Linked DNA regions of Homo sapiens: regions 1, 2, 4, 5, 6 and 7 are each linked to region 3. Evidence: promoter capture Hi-C in human tissues and cell types (Jung and others, 2019). All regions are on one chromosome and are shown on one strand. Each heading gives the region's core, a stretch centred on a gene start or on the middle of the fragment in contact. The rest is flanking DNA. Distances are from core to core; before and after follow the strand shown. Region 1 overlaps GPATCH8 (G-patch domain containing 8). Region 2 overlaps MEIOC (meiosis specific with coiled-coil domain). Region 3 holds the start of ASB16 (ankyrin repeat and SOCS box containing 16). Region 4 overlaps MPP3 (MAGUK p55 scaffold protein 3). Region 5 overlaps DUSP3 (dual specificity phosphatase 3). Region 6 overlaps GPATCH8 (G-patch domain containing 8). Region 7 holds the start of GPATCH8 (G-patch domain containing 8).

What was found. Contacts are between HindIII fragments. The study calls those that stand out against the background at their distance.
Region 1: a contact is called between a fragment that was not itself captured here and the fragment with the promoter of ASB16 in region 3, in 1 of the 25 tissues and cell types used here (lymphoblastoid cells).
Region 2: a contact is called between a fragment that was not itself captured here and the fragment with the promoter of ASB16 in region 3, in 1 of the 25 tissues and cell types used here (dorsolateral prefrontal cortex).
Region 4: a contact is called between a fragment that was not itself captured here and the fragment with the promoter of ASB16 in region 3, in 1 of the 25 tissues and cell types used here (IMR-90 fibroblasts).
Region 5: a fragment that was not itself captured here is called in contact with the fragment with the promoter of ASB16 in region 3 in 1 of the 25 tissues and cell types used here (dorsolateral prefrontal cortex).
Region 6: a fragment that was not itself captured here is called in contact with the fragment with the promoter of ASB16 in region 3 in 1 of the 25 tissues and cell types used here (dorsolateral prefrontal cortex).
Region 7: a contact is called between the fragment with the promoter of GPATCH8 here and the fragment with the promoter of ASB16 in region 3, in 1 of the 25 tissues and cell types used here (lymphoblastoid cells).

What each region holds. Positions count from the first base shown.
Region 1 is chr17:44,442,178-44,444,967 of GRCh38, reverse strand. The region is part of intron 3 of GPATCH8 (G-patch domain containing 8); the gene reads left to right. Among named protein-coding and RNA genes, the nearest start is that of ITGA2B, 54 kb to the right of the region's middle. The HindIII fragment of the contact is 3,607 bases long and covers 1-2,790 here.
Region 2 is chr17:44,666,558-44,669,454 of GRCh38, reverse strand. It overlaps MEIOC (meiosis specific with coiled-coil domain), which reads right to left. Exons shown (of 8, transcript NM_001145080.3): 5 at 1,222-2,897; 6 at 1-72. Among named protein-coding and RNA genes, the nearest start is that of MEIOC, 12 kb to the right of the region's middle. The HindIII fragment of the contact is 5,508 bases long and covers 1-2,897 here.
Region 3 is chr17:44,169,323-44,172,240 of GRCh38, reverse strand. It overlaps ASB16 (ankyrin repeat and SOCS box containing 16), which reads right to left and starts at 1,537. Exons shown (of 5, transcript NM_080863.5): 1 at 1,151-1,537; 2 at 1-195. The coding sequence starts at 1,451. The HindIII fragment of the contact is 17,920 bases long and covers 1-1,930 here.
Region 4 is chr17:43,828,702-43,831,401 of GRCh38, reverse strand. MPP3 (MAGUK p55 scaffold protein 3) reads left to right here. Exons shown (of 20, transcript NM_001932.6): 5 at 81-158; 6 at 1,295-1,375; 7 at 1,611-1,748. Among named protein-coding and RNA genes, the nearest start is that of MPP3, 3.1 kb to the left of the region's middle. The HindIII fragment of the contact is 3,501 bases long and covers 1-2,700 here.
Region 5 is chr17:43,775,799-43,778,586 of GRCh38, reverse strand. All of the region lies in intron 1 of DUSP3 (dual specificity phosphatase 3), which reads left to right. Among named protein-coding and RNA genes, the nearest start is that of DUSP3, 1.8 kb to the left of the region's middle. RefSeq lists a silencer at 1-119 and an enhancer at 52-346. The HindIII fragment of the contact is 3,547 bases long and covers 1-2,788 here.
Region 6 is chr17:44,469,498-44,472,428 of GRCh38, reverse strand. The region is part of intron 2 of GPATCH8 (G-patch domain containing 8); the gene reads left to right. Among named protein-coding and RNA genes, the nearest start is that of GPATCH8, 32 kb to the left of the region's middle. The HindIII fragment of the contact is 3,729 bases long and covers 1-2,931 here.
Region 7 is chr17:44,501,945-44,504,878 of GRCh38, reverse strand. GPATCH8 (G-patch domain containing 8) reads left to right here and starts at 1,473. Exons shown (of 8, transcript NM_001002909.4): 1 at 1,473-1,553. The coding sequence starts at 1,509. RefSeq lists a silencer at 1,190-1,539 and an enhancer at 1,640-1,739. The HindIII fragment of the contact is 22,919 bases long and covers 1-2,934 here.

The DNA.
Region 1 (2,790 bases), core at 85-2,584, 270 kb before region 3:
AAGCGGCGCGCATCATGATGACTAAGTATTTACAGTTGAACAAGTTTCAGACCCGCTACGAACATGTTCATTCTCTGAGTCAACAAATGCTTTTTAACTAAATGCCATTCTGGCCTACATACTGTGTCAGATATGGATATAAACATAAGTAAAACTCAGGGCACAAAAGTGCTACCACTTTTTTTCCCCCCGTGAGATGGAGATTCTCTCTTGTTGCCCCAGACTGGAGTGCAATGGTGTGATCTCGGCTCACTGCAACTTCTGCCTCCCAGTTTCAAGTGATTCTCCTGCCTCAGCCTCCCAAGTAGCTGGGATTACAGGAACATGCCACCACGCCCAGCTAATTTTTGTATTTTAAATGCAGACGAGGTTTTGCCATGTTGGCCAGGCTGATCTCGACCTCCTGACCTCAAGTAGTCTGCCTGCCTTGGCCTCCCACAGTGCTGGGATTACAGCCGTGAGCCACCATGCCTGGCCTTTTTTTTTTCTTTAAACTAAAGACTTAACTGTTTTTTTCCGTATCTCCTCAGCCCCATGTTTTAGACTATTTTACCCCAAAATTGTATTTATTAATTTGGCTTTCCCATTTGAAAAAACAAATTGATCTTAGCATGGTGGTTAGCTTGAGGCAATCTTTAGTGAGTCAGTATAATTTTAGCTAAAACAGTTGTATCTCATGTAAAAGTATGATTTTCTTTAGGTTTTTTTTTTTTAATTGAAAGTAACTCATGAATTCTCTTTATTATCTCTTCTAAGGGCTTGAGGATATCATGTTATCCCTGGATGAGATATCCTTCCCAGGCCTAACATTCTGATTTAACAACACTTTCACTAAAGCCTTTTGCCCCACCTTTGTTCCTGTTTATTAATATATTTAGTTATATGATTAAAATTGAACTATTTTATCCTAGATGGAAAGTATCAGATGGAAATTCGTTTAGGTCATAATTAAACTTGTGTGCCTTAGAAAACATCTGTATTTGAAAATCAAATTGGCCAGGCACCATGGCTCATGTCTGTAATCCCAGCACCTTGTGGGGCCAAAGTGGGCAAATTGCTTGAGCTCAGAAGTTCAAGAACAAACTGGGCGGGCAACATGGTGAAATCCCGTCTCTACAAAAAATAACAAGAATTAGCCACATGTGGTGGTGTGCACCTGTAGTCCCAGCTTCTTAGGAAGCTGAGATGGGAGGATTACTTGAGCCCAGGAGGTTGAGGCTGCAGTGAGCCGTGGTTATGCCACTGCACTCCAGCCTGGGCGATGGTGAGACCCTGTTTTAAAAAATAAATAAAGGAAGAAAAAAATCAAATTAATTTGGTTGTTGTATAGGTCACTAAAAAGGCCATGGCAAGAATATAGTAGGTTTTTGTAGTACTGGATAATTTGAACTCTATTTTGGGTAGAAAGTTTTTCCTTTTTTTTTAAACCTTAAAAACTCTCTAGGGATTAAGTAATGTGCTCAATGTTTTCAGTTAATGTTTTCTGAGAGGTAGCATATATCATATGTTAGAGTTGCTTAGAAAAATATCTAAACGATGCTGAAAGTAATAATTGTTTCTATGCCACCTAAAGACTCATTTTCAGGAGAAATTTGCAAAAATTAAGCTTTGGTTTGGAAATAAATGTACCATTTTTTATTCAGTGTTTCTGAAAGTTTCATGTGATCACAGTTTCAATAAATGAAATGATATTTAAGTCCATTAACATGACTTGAATCCTATTTTGAATACTTTTGCAAATCAGAGAATCACCTGCGTAATTTTTTTTATCTTGATTTTCACATATGTATTTGCATTACTTAAAAAGAAGAAATAAGTACTTTAAAGATGTCAGTGTAGGTTCTTGGCCTTTATCAGTTTAATGGTCTTTTTTCCCCTCTTTTCTCTTTTTCGACAAGGTTTTTCTCTGTCACCCAGGCTGGAGTGCAGTGGTGCGATGATAGCTCACTCCAGCTCCTGGGCTCAAGTGGTCCTTCTGCCTCAATATTTTCAGTGGCTAGGACTGCAGGTGCATGCCACCATGCCCAGCTAATTTTTTTAAGAAAAATTTTTTGGAGAGACAGAGTCTTGCTCTATTGCCCAGTATGGTCTCAAACTCCTGTCCTCAAGGCATCTTCCTGCCTTGGCCTCCCCAAGTGCTGGGATTACAGGCGTGAGCCACCAAGCCCAGCCCAGTTTTAATTGTCTTTTGAAAGTGGATTTTAGGCCGGGCTCATTGGCTTACACCTGTAATCCCAGCACTTTGGAGGCTGAGGTGAGCAGATCACTCAAGCCCAGGAGTTTGAGACCAGCCTGAGCAATATGGTGAAACCCCATCTCTACTAAAAATACAAAAATTAGCCAGATGTAGTGGCAGGCACTTGTAGTGTCAGCTACTCAGGAGGCCTAGAGGCAAGAATTGCTTGAGCCTGGAAGCTGGAATTTACAGTGAGCGGAGATGGCACCACAGCACTCCAGCCTGGGTGACTTAGCAAGATCCTGTCTCAAAAAAAACATGGATTTTGTGACTTTTTGATGGCTTTTATATTTACTTGCACTTCATTAAGGTCGTCTTTAAAGACAACTTTAGATATCTTTAAAAGACAACTTCAGACATTTTTAAGCTTTTTTAACTGCTTATGCATTAGCTTCACAAATGTTCTGTTTTCTCTCATTCTCAGCTGAAGTTCCAGCTGGTCAGATTACTCTATTTTGCCTATTTATTGGTAATTCATGGAACGTGGTGCTGCGGTTGTGGTGTTTTTTTTTTTTTTTACATCATCACTATATGCAGTGCCCAGAACAGTGCCT
Region 2 (2,897 bases), core at 324-2,823, 500 kb before region 3:
CCTTGGAACTGGAGTGTTGTTAGTACTGGATACTTTTTTTCCAGGATAATTCTTGGCAAGGGCTAATTCAGTCTGTAAAAAATTACATACTTTTTAGATGTAGAATTTTCTAAATATGATTCGACCATGAATAATAGTTTTCGTAAGCCTAATAAATAGAGTATTACCACTTTAAATGAAAATTCTGTTTTGGTATCAAAAGACAACAAATGTAAACCACAATACCACAGTATTTTTCTATCTTTTTTTTTTCAGATGGAGTCTCACTCTATTGCCCAGGCTGGAGTGCAGTGGTGCAGTCTCGGCTCACTGTAACCTCCGTTTCCCGGGTTCAAGCGATTCTCCTGCCTCAGCCTCCCGCGTAGCTGGGATTACAGGTGCCTGCCACCACGCCTGGCTAATTTTTTGTATTTTTAGTAGAGACTGGGTTTCACCATGTTGGCCAGGCTGGTCTCCAACTCCTGACCTTGTGATCTGCCCACCTTGGCCTCCCAAAGTGCTGGGATTACAGGCGTGAGCCACCGCGCCCAGCTATCGTCTTAATACAAATAAAATACCTGAGTATACCAACAGGTTAACACTACAAAATTCAAAGAAATAAACTTGTAACAACTAAGGGGGTAAAAAATCTACTTCAGGGCAAGTCAACTTAGAATAACAATAACTTTAAAATGTCAAGCATTTTTCATCTTCATTTATTTAAGCTTCCCATTGGCCAACCCCATCCATTTTTAGTTTTTAAGTAACCCACTTAATTCCTTACAGTAATGAACTTACAGCAAATCCTGGACATTATAGAATTCAGCTCAGAAATAAGGCAAGTTAGCCGGGTGCAGTGGCTCACATCTGTAATGCCAACACTTGGGACATCAAGGTGGGAGGATGGCTTGAGGCCAGGGGTTTGAGACCACCGTGGGGAACATAGTGAAACCTAATGTCTACAAAAAATTAAAATTAGCCAGGCATGGTGGCATGTGCCTGTAGTACTAGCTACTCAGGAGGAGGAAGGATTGCTTGAGCCCAGGAGTTTGGTTACAGTAAACTATGATTCTGCCACTGTACTCCAGCCTGGGCAACAGAGCGAGACTCTGTCTCTTTAAAACAACAACAAATAAAGCAAAAAGAAATAAGGCAAGTACTCTTACACTACACTAAGGTAAACAGAATGAAGACAGGCAAAAGGAACATACTGTTATTCCTAAGTGGTTAACTTTGTGTTACCTTTTTTCTCTCTTTTTCTAATGCTCTCCATTGTTCACAGCACTCTTCTAGACGAATATGAAGTTCACTGGCTGGTCCACTACGGGTTTTAATTGGTCTTTGAAATCCAAAAGTTGGCATGAGACCAGAAAAAGAATTATCACCATACATCATATTAAAATAAGGGTACAAATGGCTTAAGTCATCATAAGAAAGTAAGTCATAGGAATCCAACAGTGGAACAACTGAATGGCCAAATGGGTGGGTGGATCTTAGGGGAAACCCATTTGAACCAAGTTGTTGAAAACACTGATTATGCCTTAAATCTCCCATCATATAATTATTAGAAAAGCATGACACTTGTGTGCGATTCACACGGCTATTGTCTCCACCTCTCGTTCTGTGGCTATTAGAATGACCCTGTGACTCCAGTAGATCTTGGTATGTATTTTGTGATAAGCCATCTAAATGCTTTGGACCTTCCTCAGGATCATAATGTCCACTCTGGGGCTTGGCTTGAAAATTATGTTTGTTTACATTTTCAATTATCCCATACTTCTGAGCTGAATAGTTATCACAAAATCCATTTGGCTGCTTTATTTTTTTATCCGTAACCAATTTGAAGAGATTTTCTTCTCCAGGCTTTGTTAGTCCTTCTATGTGATTGACAGATTGGATTCTTTCTGCACCACTGTAACTAAAATCAAAACTAGAAAATGCTGAAGGGTTTTCTTGGCAATATTTCTGAAATAAATTGCTATTTGGGGTTAAGTTTGTGGATGATAGTTGGGGGAAATCTGAAGAATGGTTAGAACCTTTTGAAGCTGCACTTAAATGACTATTTAATTTCATCAAGTTACCTTGATTTCGATAAGGAATAGGAGTGTTATTTTTTGTTTGAACATTCATCCAAGTTGGTCTGTTTAAATTGATACCTCCTGAAGATGTTGCTGAGTTTGATAATAAATTCACTGATTTAAAATACTCAGAATGTGGGGGATCAGGTTTAGCAAACTGTTGCTTTTCTGTGACGTTAGCAAAATCATTAGCGGGACAAGCTGTGTGAGGTTTTAGTCCATATTCTGATGTTAAGCCAAAATCAGCAGTGAATACTGCTTCCTTTGCAAACTGTTTCTCTGTCAGATGTGGCGTAGTTTTTGGAAATGTGAAATTCTGCTGATCAGGGATTGTCTCCTCCATTTTTTTCTGATTCGCTGGCTTAACCTGAAATAACTTTGTGTAGGTGTCTGCTTCTACAGTTGGTGTTTCAGGTGTGCCATTGGCTAATTTTTTGCTATCTTGGACACTAAAATTTGAACATTTATTAAGCTTAGCCTTATTAGGATGAACATACTCTGGGTATCTACAATAATCTACATTTTCATTGTATCTATTAAATTGAGAAAGAAACATCTCTGCCCTTTTTTGCTGTAGTGGTGCTTCAAGACCTTTAGTACATATTCTGTCTCTTCCATAATGGTAGATATCAACTCCTGATTCTTTCATGATATCAGACAGACCAGTTTGGGGTGTAAAACAGTTTTTGATAAGTGGATATTCTTGGAATGTTGTCTTAGCTGTATCATTTGTCTGAATATTGTGACAGTTAGAATGATCACTTCGTGAGGGGTACATCCATTGTTCTTCAAGATCTAAACCAGTAAATCCATGATGAAGTTCATCTATTTTTTGTTGTG
Region 3 (2,918 bases), core at 288-2,787:
CGAAGGTCAGCAGCAGCCGCACACAGTCAAACTGGGCTCGGGCACAGGCCTCATGCAAGGCAGCGCGACCCCCGACACGGGCATCCAGCTCAGCTCCCTGCCGGATCAGGTGTCGAGCACAGTCTGTGTAGCCTCGGGCTGTAGCGATGGCGAGGGGTGCCGTCTGCTTGGTCTTGGGGGTCAGCACCCAGAACCCTAGGGAGAGCAAATAGTTTTGGGAGGTGGTGTATAAGACAGGGCAGGGCAGGGAGTGGGGATGCTGGTTCCAGCTGACAGCTGACACTGGCCTTCCCTCTGCATGGTTTGCTGAGCACAAACACTGCCAGGCTGTACCTGTGGAAGGGGGCTTATTCAAGTCCTGAAGTGGAAGAATAAATTGGAACAGCCTTTTAATACAGCTTATCAATCTGTAACAAAACATAGTATGTGTCATAAAAAAATTAATTGCTGTATAAAACCACAGGGGCCAACTAAGTAGAGTGACTCCCATTAAGGAAATCTCAGCGTCTTTGAATGGCTAATAGTGTCAAAGGCTTGTTCACCTTGGGGCCTGGGGTGGTGGCTCACACCTGTAATCCTAGCACTTTGGGAGGCCAAGGCGGGATGATCACTTGACCTCAGGAGTTCGAGATGAGCCTGGGCAACATAGTGAGACCTTGTCTCTTTTTTTTTTTTTTTTAGGCAGGGTCTCGCTCTGTCCCCCAGGCTGGAATGCAGTGGCGCTATCTTGGCTCACTGCAAGCTCCGCCTCCCGGGTTTAAGTGATTCTTCTGCCTCAGCTGCTGAGTAGCTGGGATTACAGGTGCGCACCACCATGCCCGGCTAATTTTTCTATTTTTAGTAGAGATGGGGTTTTACCATGTTGGTCAGGCTGGTCTCAAACTTCTGACTTCGTGATCCGCCTGCCTTGGCCTCCCAAAGTGCTGGGATTACAGGCGTGAGCCACTGTGCCCGGTCAACTTTTAATTCTTAAAAGACATACAGACTGCTAACCCTGCCTCATCTCTGTTTAGGAGGGAGCTAGGATAGGTGGTGGAAAGGGCTGCTATAGTCTGTGGTCTGCAGGGAAGGAGGGGCCTAGACTCTCCCCCTTCCCCACCCACTCCCCTTCTTTCTCCCTCCTCTTCTGCCCTCTTCTGGTGCCCCCTACCCTGTTCAGCCGACCAGGCCAGCTGGTTGCTCACAGTCTCCACAATCATGTTGGCGGCCTCTTCATCTTGGAACAGGGCTTGGACCTGCTGCAGGTTGCCGGAGAAGAGGGCTTGGTGGACAGCTGGGTCTCGGCAGGAACGGTGAGGCCTAGTGAGTCGGGCCCGGGGACTTGACGGGCACCTGCGGCTCCGGCACTGCTGGGCAGCCGCCCGCCGCCGGTCCTCCCATTCCAGCCACTCCTGCTGCAGGCGGAGAGAGCGCAGCATGGAGGAGGTGAAGGGGAAGGTCTCTCTTGCCATGGATGGGGCCCAGGGGTTTGGGCAGTGGCACCTGGGCAGAGCCAGGTTCCCTCGACCCGACTACCTCCCTTGCTCTGAGGAGCCACCCTGCCCCCGCCACCGTGAGCCAGAGAAAGCAGCAGCTGAGGCTATAAATAGGTCCTTTGCTGCTCTGGTAAACATGGTTTGCTCAGAGTCATGATCCTGGTGCTGAGAAGCTGCTGGCCCAACCCCCAGCCCAGGGTGAGGGCCAGCCCCTGCCCCTGCCGATACCCTTTGGTTGGTCAGCAGGCCCTCAGCTGAGGCCACCCCCGAACCCCAGCATCTGCATCCACCTTCATCTCTAGAGCGAGCATCTTGGGTTGGCAAGGTCCAGGGTGCGCAAAAAGGTCAGTCATGGAGATGGGCAGGGCTGGGAGGAAGACAAGGTGCCTCCAGCCTCTCTGATGTTGGCTGGAGGGCAGGAGCCACCATTGGCCCACGTGGAGGAGAGAGGGCTGACCTCAGCACAGGAGGTAAGGGGAGGTCAAGGCAGAGTTACTGAGAAGGTGAGCAGCTCTTCCCAGCATCTGCAGTAACAGCAATAACTCTGTACATATGCACAGAGTTTCACGGTGTTTAAATCACATTCATATCCACCTTCACCCAGGGGATCATACTTCCCAGCCCACCCAATAATTAGTAAACTTGGTTTGGACAATAAATGAAATTATCACAGTTGAATGCCCCTGAGATGGGTGGTCTTATCTCTGTTTTACAGATGAGGAATTTAAGGCTTAACAAAGTAATCTACTGGCTCAAGGTCACAGTTTGTGAGAGGCAGAGCCAGGACCCCACATAGATGGTGTGCTTTGGGCCAAGAATGGTGGCTCATGCCTGTAATCCTAGCACTTTGGGAGGCCAAGACAGGAGGATTGCTTGAGCCTAGGAGTTTGAGACAATCCTGGGCAACACAGTGAGACCTATATCTTTTTTTTTTTTTTTTTTTTTTTTGAGACAGAGTCTCACCCTGTCTCCCATGCTGGAGTGCAATGGCACGATCTTGGCTCACTGCAACCTCCGCCTCCCGGGCTCAAACGATTCTCTTGCCTCAGCCTCCTGAGTAGCTGGGATTATAGGCACCCGCCACCATGCCCAGCTAAATTTTGTATTTTTAGTAGAGATTTAATTTAGGGTTTCACCATGTTGGCCAGGCTGGTCTCGAACTCCTGACCTCGTGGTCTGCCCGCCTCGGCCTCCCAAAGTGCTAGGATTATAGGCGTGAGCCACCACCCCCTGCCTCTCCATCTCTTAAAAAAAGAAGAAAAAAAAAAAAAGATGGTACACTTTTTGCCTTCAGCTGCTGCAGCCACCTGGCAGCCTCCCCCATTCTCCAAGCAGGACAGACTAGTCTGTAGAAACTGCCTTCAATCATCCTTTTTTTTTTTTTCTCATGGTGTCACCCAGTCTGGAGTGCAGTGGGGTGATCTCGGCTCACTGAAACCTCCG
Region 4 (2,700 bases), core at 129-2,628, 340 kb after region 3:
TCTGCTGCCCCAAATGTCCCCACAGCCGTGGGTGGGATGTGTGGTGTCCAGGGTGCATCTGAAATACTCTGTCTTTGCAGATTCATGAGAAGCTTCGCTATTATGAAAGGCAAAGTCCAACCCCAGTTCTGCACAGCGCTGTGGCCCTCGCTGAGGACGTAAGCCCCAGGTTTCTCCTTACAGTGTCTGCCCCACTCCCCACCCTGTAGGGCTCCTTCATCTTGCCTCGCTTGCTTAGTGTGGGGACACCGGGAATCAGGAGCCCAAAGGTGAAGAGGTGTTTTCTTCCCTTGTCCTCCTCCTTCTCTTCCTCTCTCTGGGTTCCCCGAAAGGTAGGGAGGAACCCGTGAGCCTTGGACTGGGCTGGGAGACACTGTGACATGGAGCTGCCCACTTACTGTGTGTTCTTTAGCAAGTCTGCTTCCTCTGCTGTAAATGAGAGCATTGGATTGGCTCAGCAGTTCCCAAACTGCCCTGAGGACTGGTGATTTGAATAGGTCAATAAGACATTATGTCTGTGCTTTCCTGAAGTCAAGGGACCTACAGTGTGTCCCCGCATACTGGCTCAGGCTTCTCATTTTTTAAAGGAACGCTTCTTAATTTCTTGTGGACCTAGTCGTCTATGTTGCGTGGTTGGGGAAAACCCATTCTGGTTGATTACTAAGATCAGTTCCTGAATAAACTCACCTAACCCCAGGAGATGGCCTGGGGAGGGATGAGTGCAGCTTGTGGGTGCAGAGCCCTGGGCCCTTCTCCACTGTGGAATGTGATTAGGGGCACATTAGATTGCCTGGCTCCCAGGCTCAGCGCTGCCTGTCCCACCAGCTCTGTGATGTTAAGTAGGCCACTCAACCTCTCTGAGCTCCCATTTCCTCATTCATAAAATAGCATCTGAGAGCCAGATAAGCCCAGGTTCAAATCCTAGCTGTGCTGTATATGAGCTCTGTGACTTCGGGCAAAATGTTTAATCTCTTTGAGTCTCAGGATTCTCATCTGTAAAATGGCAAAGTAACAAGACCCTCTGCATCAAGTTGGTTGCGAGGGTTCAGTGAGAAGATCCACATAAAGCAGAAAGCACGTAGGGCTTAAAACGGTGGCTCCTTGGAGGATGGCCCCATAGAGCTGCTCCTGACCCCTGGTGTGATGTTCCCAGGATCATCGTCGTCGGGTGGTTGAGGGTCTGGTGTGCCCCTGGGGGCTGCAGCTGGGTGGGCCCTTCCAAAGAGGAAGGACCCAGCAGATATGGGGCAGGGGCACCTCTAGCCATCAGTGGCGCCTGTCTCATTCTCTGCAGGTGATGGAGGAGTTGCAGGCCGCCTCCGTGCACAGTGATGAGAGGGAGCTGCTCCAGCTGCTGTCCACCCCGCACCTGAGGGTAGTCACACAGAGCCCCTGCCCAGCCATGCCTCTGGGTCTCCTGGGATGGGGGCGGAGGGAGCTCTCCTAATGAGGCTGAGGAGTGGAGACTGAGGGAGCGATCCTCAGCACTAGTGTCTGGGCAGTTGTCTCTCTGGCATGGCGTCTGCCACCCTCCATACCACCGGCCAGCTGCGGCCTGCTGACCCTGTGAGCGGCGGGCCAGCCTTCCTTTTCTCTGGCTTTCCCGGCAGGCTGTGCTCATGGTACATGACACGGTTGCCCAGAAGAATTTTGACCCCGTTCTCCCGCCTCTGCCTGACAATATCGATGAGGATTTTGATGAGGAATCGGTGAAGATCGTCCGCTTGGTGAAGAACAAGGAACCCCTGGTAGGTGCTGCTGCCTGCCCCTCTCTAACCCACTCTTCCCCTGCCTCTCACCCCCACCCAGAACACTGGACAAGATCCTCCCCGAAGTCTTCAGAGTGAGTGACGGCAGCTTTGCCTGCGCTGCTGCTCATCCCTGTGGTGCCTCTGTGTGCAGGGCACCCCTTTCTCTAGGTGGATACAGCCCCTCTCAACTGTGGCCAACACCCTTTGTGTAGTTAATAACCTGCACAATTGTACAGGGTGACCCTGATCATGCTTTAAGCCAGAAATGGACAAACTACAGCCCAAGGGCCAAAACCAGCCCACAGCTTATTTTTTAAAATAAAGCTTTTTTGGAGCACAACCAGGCCCATTCACTTACAGATTGGCTGTGGCTGCCTTTATAGTGCGATGGCAGAGTTGAGTCGTTGTGACAGAGACTGTGTGGCTGGCCTCAAATATTTACATGTGGCCCCTTATAGAAAACGTGTGACAATGCCTGCTCTGAATGTTGAGGAAGCACAGGGCATTCCTCTCCCCAGCAGACAGACTGCTATCACTTTGGTCCTGGTTCAGCATTGATTTACCGAGCAAAGGGACAGCGTTGTTTATGAGATGCTCAGAAGTGGTGGAAGCCCAGAGAATTGAGATTGGCTCCAGAGGATCCCACAGCTGGCATTCTCTATTTCCAACTTTCCCCAAATGACCTCCGACGAGCCTCTTCTGCAAACAGACGAGGATCTCTCCTCTGCCTCTGTTTCCTCACTTGTAAAATGGAGTGGCCATCCATTGATTTAGCAAACACATTGTGAGCCCTCCTATCCAGGCTCTGTATTGGGTGCTGGCGGTTCAGAGCTGAATAAATGATGGATAGCGATGCTGGAAAGTTCTCAGTTCTGGGGGGCTAGAAGTCCTGAGGTTCTTAGCTGATGGCCTCTCTTTCTAGCAATAATTATCTTACGTACTTCAAATA
Region 5 (2,788 bases), core at 162-2,661, 390 kb after region 3:
CCCTTCCCCGTGGCGGGGTGCACGGAGCCCGGGTGGCGCCTGCCCGGGTCCCAGCCGCCACCCGCTTGGGGCTTGGCCTTGGGCGGGGTCGGGGCTACCATGTTCACTTAACAGGTGACCCTCGGTCGCCCGGCCGGTCTCCTGCCCGCGCGTCATGTGACAGCTGCCTGGTTCTGCAGTGAGGTCACCGCGGAATGTCTGCCTTCGCCGCCATGGCAACGGGCCGACGTCACAATTCGGGCATGGAATTTTCCCGGCCCGGCAGTCCCGGATCAGGGAACCTAAACACCCCAAATGAGCGAGTCCGGGGAGCTGGGCCGGGATTTCCAGGCCCCCACCTTCCAGATGTGATTTGATTTACAGGAGATTCTAGAACGGTCCAGTGATAACCCCCCTAAGGACCTGAGCCACCACCTAGAAAAGGCTCTTGACCTTTCACCCCCAGGCTCTGTCACCCAGGCTGGAGTGCAATGGCGAGATCTCGGCTCACTGCAACCTCTGCCTCCTGGGTTCAAGCAATTCTCCTGCCTCAGCCTCCCGAGTAGCTGGGATTACAGGCGCCCGCCACCACGCCTGGCTACTTTTTGTATTTTTAGTAGAGACGGGGTTTCACCATATTGGCCAGGCTGGTCTCTTGGCCAGGCTGGTCTCAAACTCCTGACCTCATGATCCGCCCACCTCGGCCTCCAAAAGTGCTGGGATTACAGGCGTGAGCCACCGCACCCGGACAGTAAGAGATTTTTTTTAATTTAAATTTTAAATTTTTTTTCTAGTAAGAATGTCTAATCAGCAGGAAAGAACCAGTGTTAACATTCTGAGATGTGAAATAGGAGCCTCAAGAAAGAATATATTAGCATGCCTGTACAGCCTTGGAAAGCCTCAAGTTGGATTTTCACGATACTCTGAGGACCCAGTTACCAAAATCCTAAGCTTCATGGCTCAGCCCAAGGATGGCATGTTGAAAACTCAAAACTAACCCTCCTCCCATTTTACAGAGGAGGAAATGGTGGCTCAGAGTGTGTGAGGGACTACAAGGACAGGGTCAATGTCTTGTTCATGTATGTATTTCCTGACCTCCGCTATGACCTGCTGTTTAGCCTGCCAAGGACTGCCACGGAAATGGGGGTCATCATGGAACTAGAAGGGGTCCATCAGGCCCCAGCCTCATGGGGACAGTTCTCATCCATTCCATCATTCATTCACCAGTCTGAGCACCTGCTTTATGTCAGGCACTGTACAATGTTCATTCATAGTAGAGATAGTAATAATGATAATTGTAAATTTTTTGAATGTTGAATTATTAATAGTATTAGAGGCCTGGCACGATGGCTCACGCCTGTAATCCCAGCACTTTGGGAGGCCGAGGCGGGTGGGTCACCTGAGGTCAGCAGTTCGAGACCAGCCTGACCAACATGGTGAAACCCTGTCTCTACTAAAAATACAAAAATTAGCTGGGCATGGTGCCTGGCGCCTGTGATCCCAGCTACTCCGGAGGCTGAGGCAGGAGAATCGTTTGAACACGGGAGGTGGAGGTTACAGTGAGCCAAGATCGTACCGTTGCACTCCAACTGGGCAACAAGAGCGAAACTCCATCTCAAAAAAAAAAAGTATTAGAGAAGGGAGATGAATGGGAGTGACTCTTCAAAGTGTTTTTTTCTATCAGCCACTGCTTCACAGTCTTGCGCGGTGTCCTAAGCAGGAATAAACAGAGTCCCACAGTGTCAGCCAAAGGCTTCAGGAATTGGAAAGCTCTAGAGACACCCTTCCTCTTGCACCAAGCAGCAAGCAGGCCTTGTTAGCCTCAGGAATCCCGCTTGCTTGGGCAGGTTGGCCATTCAGCTGTCATCACTTCCCAAGTGGAAACCAAGGTTGTACACGTCTGGTGTAGCCAGAGTGGCAATTGCTGATGGCCACTGTAGAAAATACATCCCTTGCCCTCTAAGCACCTCTGACCTTGACTTGGCCAGGGGTGTGGGGGTTCCTCAACAGGGAGGATCAGTGAGCACCAAGCACCAAGAGGATTTGGGCTCCATTCCCTTAACAAAATCAGGGCCGCAGCCACGTCCTCACAAGGCAGAGCCAGAGCCTGTGTGAGCCACATGTGCCAGGCCTTGGGGGTTTTGCAGCAGATGTGGGCATGAGGGGCAGAGTGAGGTGGAAGATAGAGCAGGGCTGGATGTCGGGAGAAAGGAGGTCTTCTCCCAGATCTGCCACCAGCAGCACACGGGGCCTGTGCCCATCCCTCTGCTCATCCTGTTGGGCCTGAGTTCAAGCTCTGTTAAGCAGGGATATTGCCATCCTTGTTCCTCACAGGGCTGCTCGCAGTGGGCAAGCAAGATCACACAGGAGGTGGCATTTTATAAAGTATAAACTGCTATTTGGACTGGGATGTTTTGTGAGATGAAATAAAGGGGCCTTTTCACCATTCAGACCAATTATTATTTTTATTTTATTTTATTTTATTTTTCGAGACGGAGTCTCACTCTGTCACCCAGGCTAGAGTGCAATAGCACAATCTCAGCACACTGCAACCTCCACCTCCCGGGTTCAAGTGATTCTCCTGTCTCAGCCTCTGTAATCCCAGAGTAGCTGGGATTACAGGCATGTACCACCACACCCGGCTCACTTTTGTATTTTTAGTAGAGACGGGGTTTCACCATGTTGGCCAGGCTGGTCCCGAACTCCTGACAGGTGATCCACCTGCCTCGGCTTCCCAGAGTGCTGGGATTACAGGTGTGAGCCACTGCACCCGACCTTAGATAAATTATTTTGTAACCTCCCATAGTTC
Region 6 (2,931 bases), core at 57-2,556, 300 kb before region 3:
TGGAAATTTCATTCCTATGGCACATGAGGCTAATGCTATTTTACCTCTCATAATGTCCAGGACTTTTTCTGCCACATATAGCGAGAACAGTATCAGAAGGCAGTCTAATTGAGTAATCATTGTTGAATAATCTCATTCAGTGGGAGTAGAATTGATAATATGCCTTATTTATTAAGTAGTGCTACCTTCTTCACTTAAAATAGCAAATAGTATATAGTACTCAGGCTGGATATTTAATTTTTTTAAATAAATGAATGTTCAGAAATGTATATTAGTAATTACACTTCTAATGAAAATTTACTTCTGAAAGATAAATATATGCATTATTTGTGATGAGATAGTTTAGGTTGTAGGAGAGAACTTCATGGCCTACATTGTATTAGGTAGAAGTAGGGCACAGGATCTGGGAGAATAAACAAAGATGCAAGAAAAAATAAGAAAAAAAAAAAGAAGTATTGACACACAAGATAAGAGGGATCTTATTTCTGTTGCCTGATCATTTGTGAGTAAAATTTTAAGTGTTTTTCTCTTTTTTCAACTTTTTTTTTTTTTTTTTACTTTTTTTGGTCACAGAAAATTTTAAGTTTTAAGAGAAACTCCTACAGTGATTGGCATCAAAGTAGGTAGTGTTCCCTCCCTCCCACCAAACAAAAGAAGTCCCTTATCACCTGAGGAATGCCCACTAAATAATAAGTAAATATTTAATTACATGGCTGGCTGGCTATATTAAGCTGTTTTGTTTTTAGGGGAAAATGGTGTTACTTCTAACACAGAAAGAGTGCTGAATTAAAATCTTTCTCTGCAGCAATATCTATTGAGAGGTGCTGACTGTTTTGCTACAGCATGCAACTCAAAAGTGGCTGAAAATATGCAGCTTTGGGAGTCTACAGATCATTGCAGGAGCTAAAGGTCTAGTCATTTTTTTTTAACCAAAGGTAATCTGCAGCAGCTGGTAACCGTGGAGGTCTCTGCACAGGTTTGTGCCAAGAATATGCCTGTGTGAAGGGTTATTGTGAGTATAGGATTAAGGTCTTTTTATTTTGTAGTAGGCTAAATTTGATGCAAACCAGCAAGATGGGAAATGAGACATGAAGATGCAATAATGTATTATGCTTTTAGTGAACTTCCGAAGCTTAGATTTGTTAGTGAGATATTGGTATTTCAATTTTATTAGGTAAATGTTGAAAATATATCAAAATCCAGTATTTGTAAAGCATTTAATAATATTTTTTGAAGTTTAATTTTCCCTTATTTGCTTCAACCAACCAGATATCTTTCAATGAGATTTTTCCTCAAGAATGAAATATCTTTTTAAGAAAATTATATGAGAATTGCTAAACAACTTGATTATCTCTATTAAAAACAAGTTGAAAAGTGTGAACATTTTATCCCTATTACGAGAAGCTTTGAATTTGAATTTTAAAAATTGTTATTGCTTTATGAGATATTTAGGTCTCAAATGTTATAATTATAACCTCCACTTACTTAAAGACAAAATATTTACAAAACAAAGCTTGATCTAAAGCCATAGCTCCGTCTAGGATTCAATCACAGAAGAATTAATTGGTGTTTTTTAGGATACACGGTCCTTTATGACCTTTATCATAGTTAGAAGATGAGGAATTGGGCGCAGGGGCTCACGCCTGTAATCCCAGCACTTTGGGATGCTGAGGCGGGCAGATGACGAGGTCAGGAGTTCGAGAACAGCCTGACCAACATGGTGAAACCCTGTCTCTACTAAAAATACAAAAAGTAGCCAGACGTGGTGGCACATGCCTGTGCATGTGCTGGGATTACCCAGCTACTCAGGAGGCTGAGGCAGGAGGATTGCTTGAACCTGGGAGGCAGAGGTTGCAGTGAGTCGAGATCACGCCACTGTACTCCAGCCTGGGTGACAGAGCGAGACTCCGTCTCAAAAAAAAAAAAAAAAAAAAGCGCTGGGTGCAGTGGCTCACACCTATAATCCCAGCACTTTGGGAGGCCGAGGTGGGTGGATCACAGGGTCAGGAGATAGACCATTCTGGCTAACACGGTGAAACCCCATGTCTACTAAAAATACAAAACTTAGCCGGGTGTGGTGGCACACGCCTGTAGTCCCAGCTACTCAGGAGGCTGAGGCAGGAGAATCGCTTGAACCCAAGATCGTGCCACTGCACTCCAGCCTGGGTGACAGAGCGAGACTCGATCTCCAAAAACAAACAAACAAAAAAAGATGAGGGATCAGATGGGAGAATGACTTTAAGCTATATAGAAGGCAGAATGCATGCATCATAGACTTAAAACATGTTGTTACTGTTGTGGTTGGAAGTGCAACTACCCATCAGCCGCTAGTCGGTCCTTGCTCTACCTGACTGATTAAAATTCTTTCTTTATGGTTGTCAGGATGACCTAATAGGTTTAAAAATGTAGTGTAAGCTTCAAACTCCAGTTGCTGATGTTTAGTTTGCGCATCTTAAGGATTTGGAAGTATATGTATAATTGGGTTTTGTGATGTTGCATATCTGTCTAGATCTGTGGACTCCACTAGTTCCAAACTGTAATTCTTTATAAGACTGCTGATTTGACATTTAGCAGTGACCATATGTGGACTGCACTAGAAATAATGTGCTTCTTGGAGCTGAATGGTGTAGCATTACTATATGGCTTTTCTCTCTAGTCTTCATTGTGTCATCTGTAGTGAGCTATAGAGTTTTTTTGTTTCGGGAATTTTTACAACTTGTTTGCATGGGTTCACCTAGTAGCATTGGTTCTTGCTTATAGTCTTTAATACACAATCAGCAAAGCTTACAATCCACTCAAGAGACTTACTATTTTGTCACTGTTGAAAATGGGCTAAATGATGTAAATTGAATGTGGCTGTCAACTAAAACAAAATTCAGTATAGAATTAGTATTCATCCAGTCATGGACATACCTGTAGCATGGTTTTCTC
Region 7 (2,934 bases), core at 224-2,723, 330 kb before region 3:
AAAAAATTAGCCGGGCTTGGTGGCGGGCGCCTGTAGTCCCAGCTACTCGGGAGGCTGAGGCAGGAGAATGGCGTGAACCCGGAAGGCGGAGCTTGCAGTGAGCCGAGATCGCGCCACTGCACTCCAGCCTGGGCGACAGAGTGAGACTCCTTTTCAAAAAAAAAAAAAAACAAATGAGCTGGGCTTAGTGGTGGGCGCCTGTAATCCCAGCTACTAGGGTGGCTGAGGCAGGAGAATCTCTTGAACCTGGGAGGCGGAGGTTGCAGTGAGCCGAGATTGCGCCACTGTACTCCGGCGACAGTGCGAGACTCCGTCTCAAAAAAAAAAAAAAAAAAAGAATACAATGTTTGAATTCTGTGTGCCCTGCCTCCCCTTAGATGGAAGCGTAGGCTGAAGCATGGGTGGGGCAAAGGGTAACAGCTAGAAAATACACACCCTTCCTCAAAAAATTACATTCCATTTGACTCTTTCAGGGCAGGGTAAGACCCATTTTTCCATTGTGTGATTTCTGTCAACTACTCTTTTCAAAAGGAGAGAAGTCCTGCCACCCTTCTATGTGTTTTATGTATTTTGGCTAAGAGTCCTGGAGCACTGGGTGAGGTCCTCAGAAGGGATGGAAAAATCCGATTCTTGACTCTCATAGTCAGCGCTAGGCAGGAGCATCAGAGATTACTGAATCCAATTTCCCTATTGTATAAAAAGGAAACTGAAGCCCAGAGAGCTTTAGTCGATCTGGATCAACTTCGGTCCCTTGTGAAATACTTCTCTCAAAGGATGGCTCGAAGTCAAGCTCCTTGCAGTCTTTGGGCCTTTGGGTCTAACGTTCCCTATGCCCCAATGCTGTAGGCTCCTCGCTGTGCCTCGGTCAAAGGTCCTTTCAGAGACTGTCCCTCTCAGCACTGTGGCCAGTTTTACTTTTTTGTGGCACTTGTTGATATTTAAAAATATTTATTTTACGAGTTATGTGAGTTCTTCCACTGGAATGAAATCCCCATAAGAGGAGATCATTCCTGTCTCGTTCACCGTTGAATCCTCAGGGTGAGCTGAGATTCGAAGCTAAGCAGTCTGGCTCTAAGGTCGCGCTTTCGGCCCAACATTATGCTGCTATTTAGTGAAGACGATGGACTTCTGCGCACACGGGGAAGCAACAGTGAGAAAAGACACCCGGAAGTGAGCAACAGCAAAACATCCAGATTTGTCCGCACGGTGCCCCCTCTGACCTTTCCCTCCGGAAGCTCTCGCGGCTCTCGGGCGGGAGTGCGCACGCGCGGCCACCGGGGTCGCTCCGGGTCGCGCGCGGAGCAGGGGCTAGAGGGAAGGGTCAGCCTCCAGGGCTGGCAGGCGCCTGCGCCGCGGGGCTCCCGTCAGGACGCGCATTCTCGCTCCCTCCCTCGGCTGCGCGCGCCCGGTGGGCGTGGGAGGAGGCGGGGAACCGGGGAGGGGTGGGTGTCGCAGGAGGGAAGGAGCGAACCGGAGAGCGTCGTCCTGAGAGGAGTGAAGGCGGCAAAATGGCGGACCGCTTCTCCCGCTTCAACGAAGACCGAGACTTTCAGGTAAACACGGGCGTCGCCGAGGATGCGGGGAAGGCGCTGGTCTAGCCCAGAACCTCCTTCATCTCCGGCTCCCAGCCCTCTTTCCTTCCAGTTTTGCTCCGACTTGCGAACCAGCTCGCTCTTCTCCCGTCTCTGCTTTCTCAAGAGGCCTCCCGGCTTGAGGGAGGCCGCATCTCCTCGCACCCGCATTCTCTTACCCCTGAAACTCAGGCCGCGGGGCTTGCGGCTTCCGCCTGTTTGGCATCGGATTTCGGAACCGGGCCTGAGCGCCGTGTGAGGGGCTGTGCCCTCCAGGTCTGCCCGATCTGTGCCGGCGAAGGGCTGGCTCCCAGGGGACAAGAGGGGTGGTTGGGTTGGGCTGAGAGGGCTTGGGGGAGAGTATTGCTGAGGCCAAGGCTTCCGAACCCCGGGATTTTGCTCTCACGGATCCTTTTGGGGTCCTTCTCTTTTCTTTCTTCACTGTGATAAATCAATTCCTTTCATTGTCTGCTTTTCCTCTTCCTTACCTGGGAAAAGGTTGCCTTCGCTATCAGACGCCTTATTGGTTAGTCATACATTGAGATTTCGCGGGGCATAAGTGTTGCTGTTATTAGGCTGTTAATTGGGCTTGGAAAGCAGTAAGTTACTGGACTATGATCCGATGTGAGCCTAACCTCAAATCCTATCTCGAAAGATTTGTGAGAAGCGTGATGATAATAGGCCGTCCACGCATGGGGTCACTAGTGCCAAAAGCTTGATTTTTCTTTCTTCAATTGCAAATGTTAGTATGGAAAAATGCCCTTACGATGGCAAGCTCTATTGAGTAAAAAATAAAGGCCAAATTAGAATAACTTGTTTTTTCGCTGTTGAAAATACCTTTCTGTTGAAATTGTTACCGCGGAAATCTCGAAGACTAAAAGGGATTTAGTAGAGATTGGCTATTTCTAGGTAAAATACATCCGTAGAGTCTCAAAAAAAAAAAAAAAACACTGCATTACTACCGCATATCCTGGCAACTGCAATTTGGGTCGGGATGAATCTCAGAACTCAAGTTTTTATCCCGCTGCAGATCCTACTCAAAGCAGTACGAAAGCACTCTAGATGTGTTTCAGAAGGCAGTTTAAAGAGTTTGAATTCCCTGAGATGATAGGATTGGTAAATAAATAGGTAAAGCAGTTTAACAATTTTAACTCAGCACTGTTAACAGTCTAGTACATAGAACGCTTATGAGAAGTTTTGCAGCAGTAAGGGATCTGGGGGCTGTTAAAAAGCCTTGTGATCATGCGCCTGCTGTATAGCTGCAGCACAATACAGGAGAGTCTCAGGATGTTCTAAGGATATAATGCAGATTCACCAAAGTTTGAAGCAGTTCATGTTAGCCTTTTGATCCCTGAGAAATATA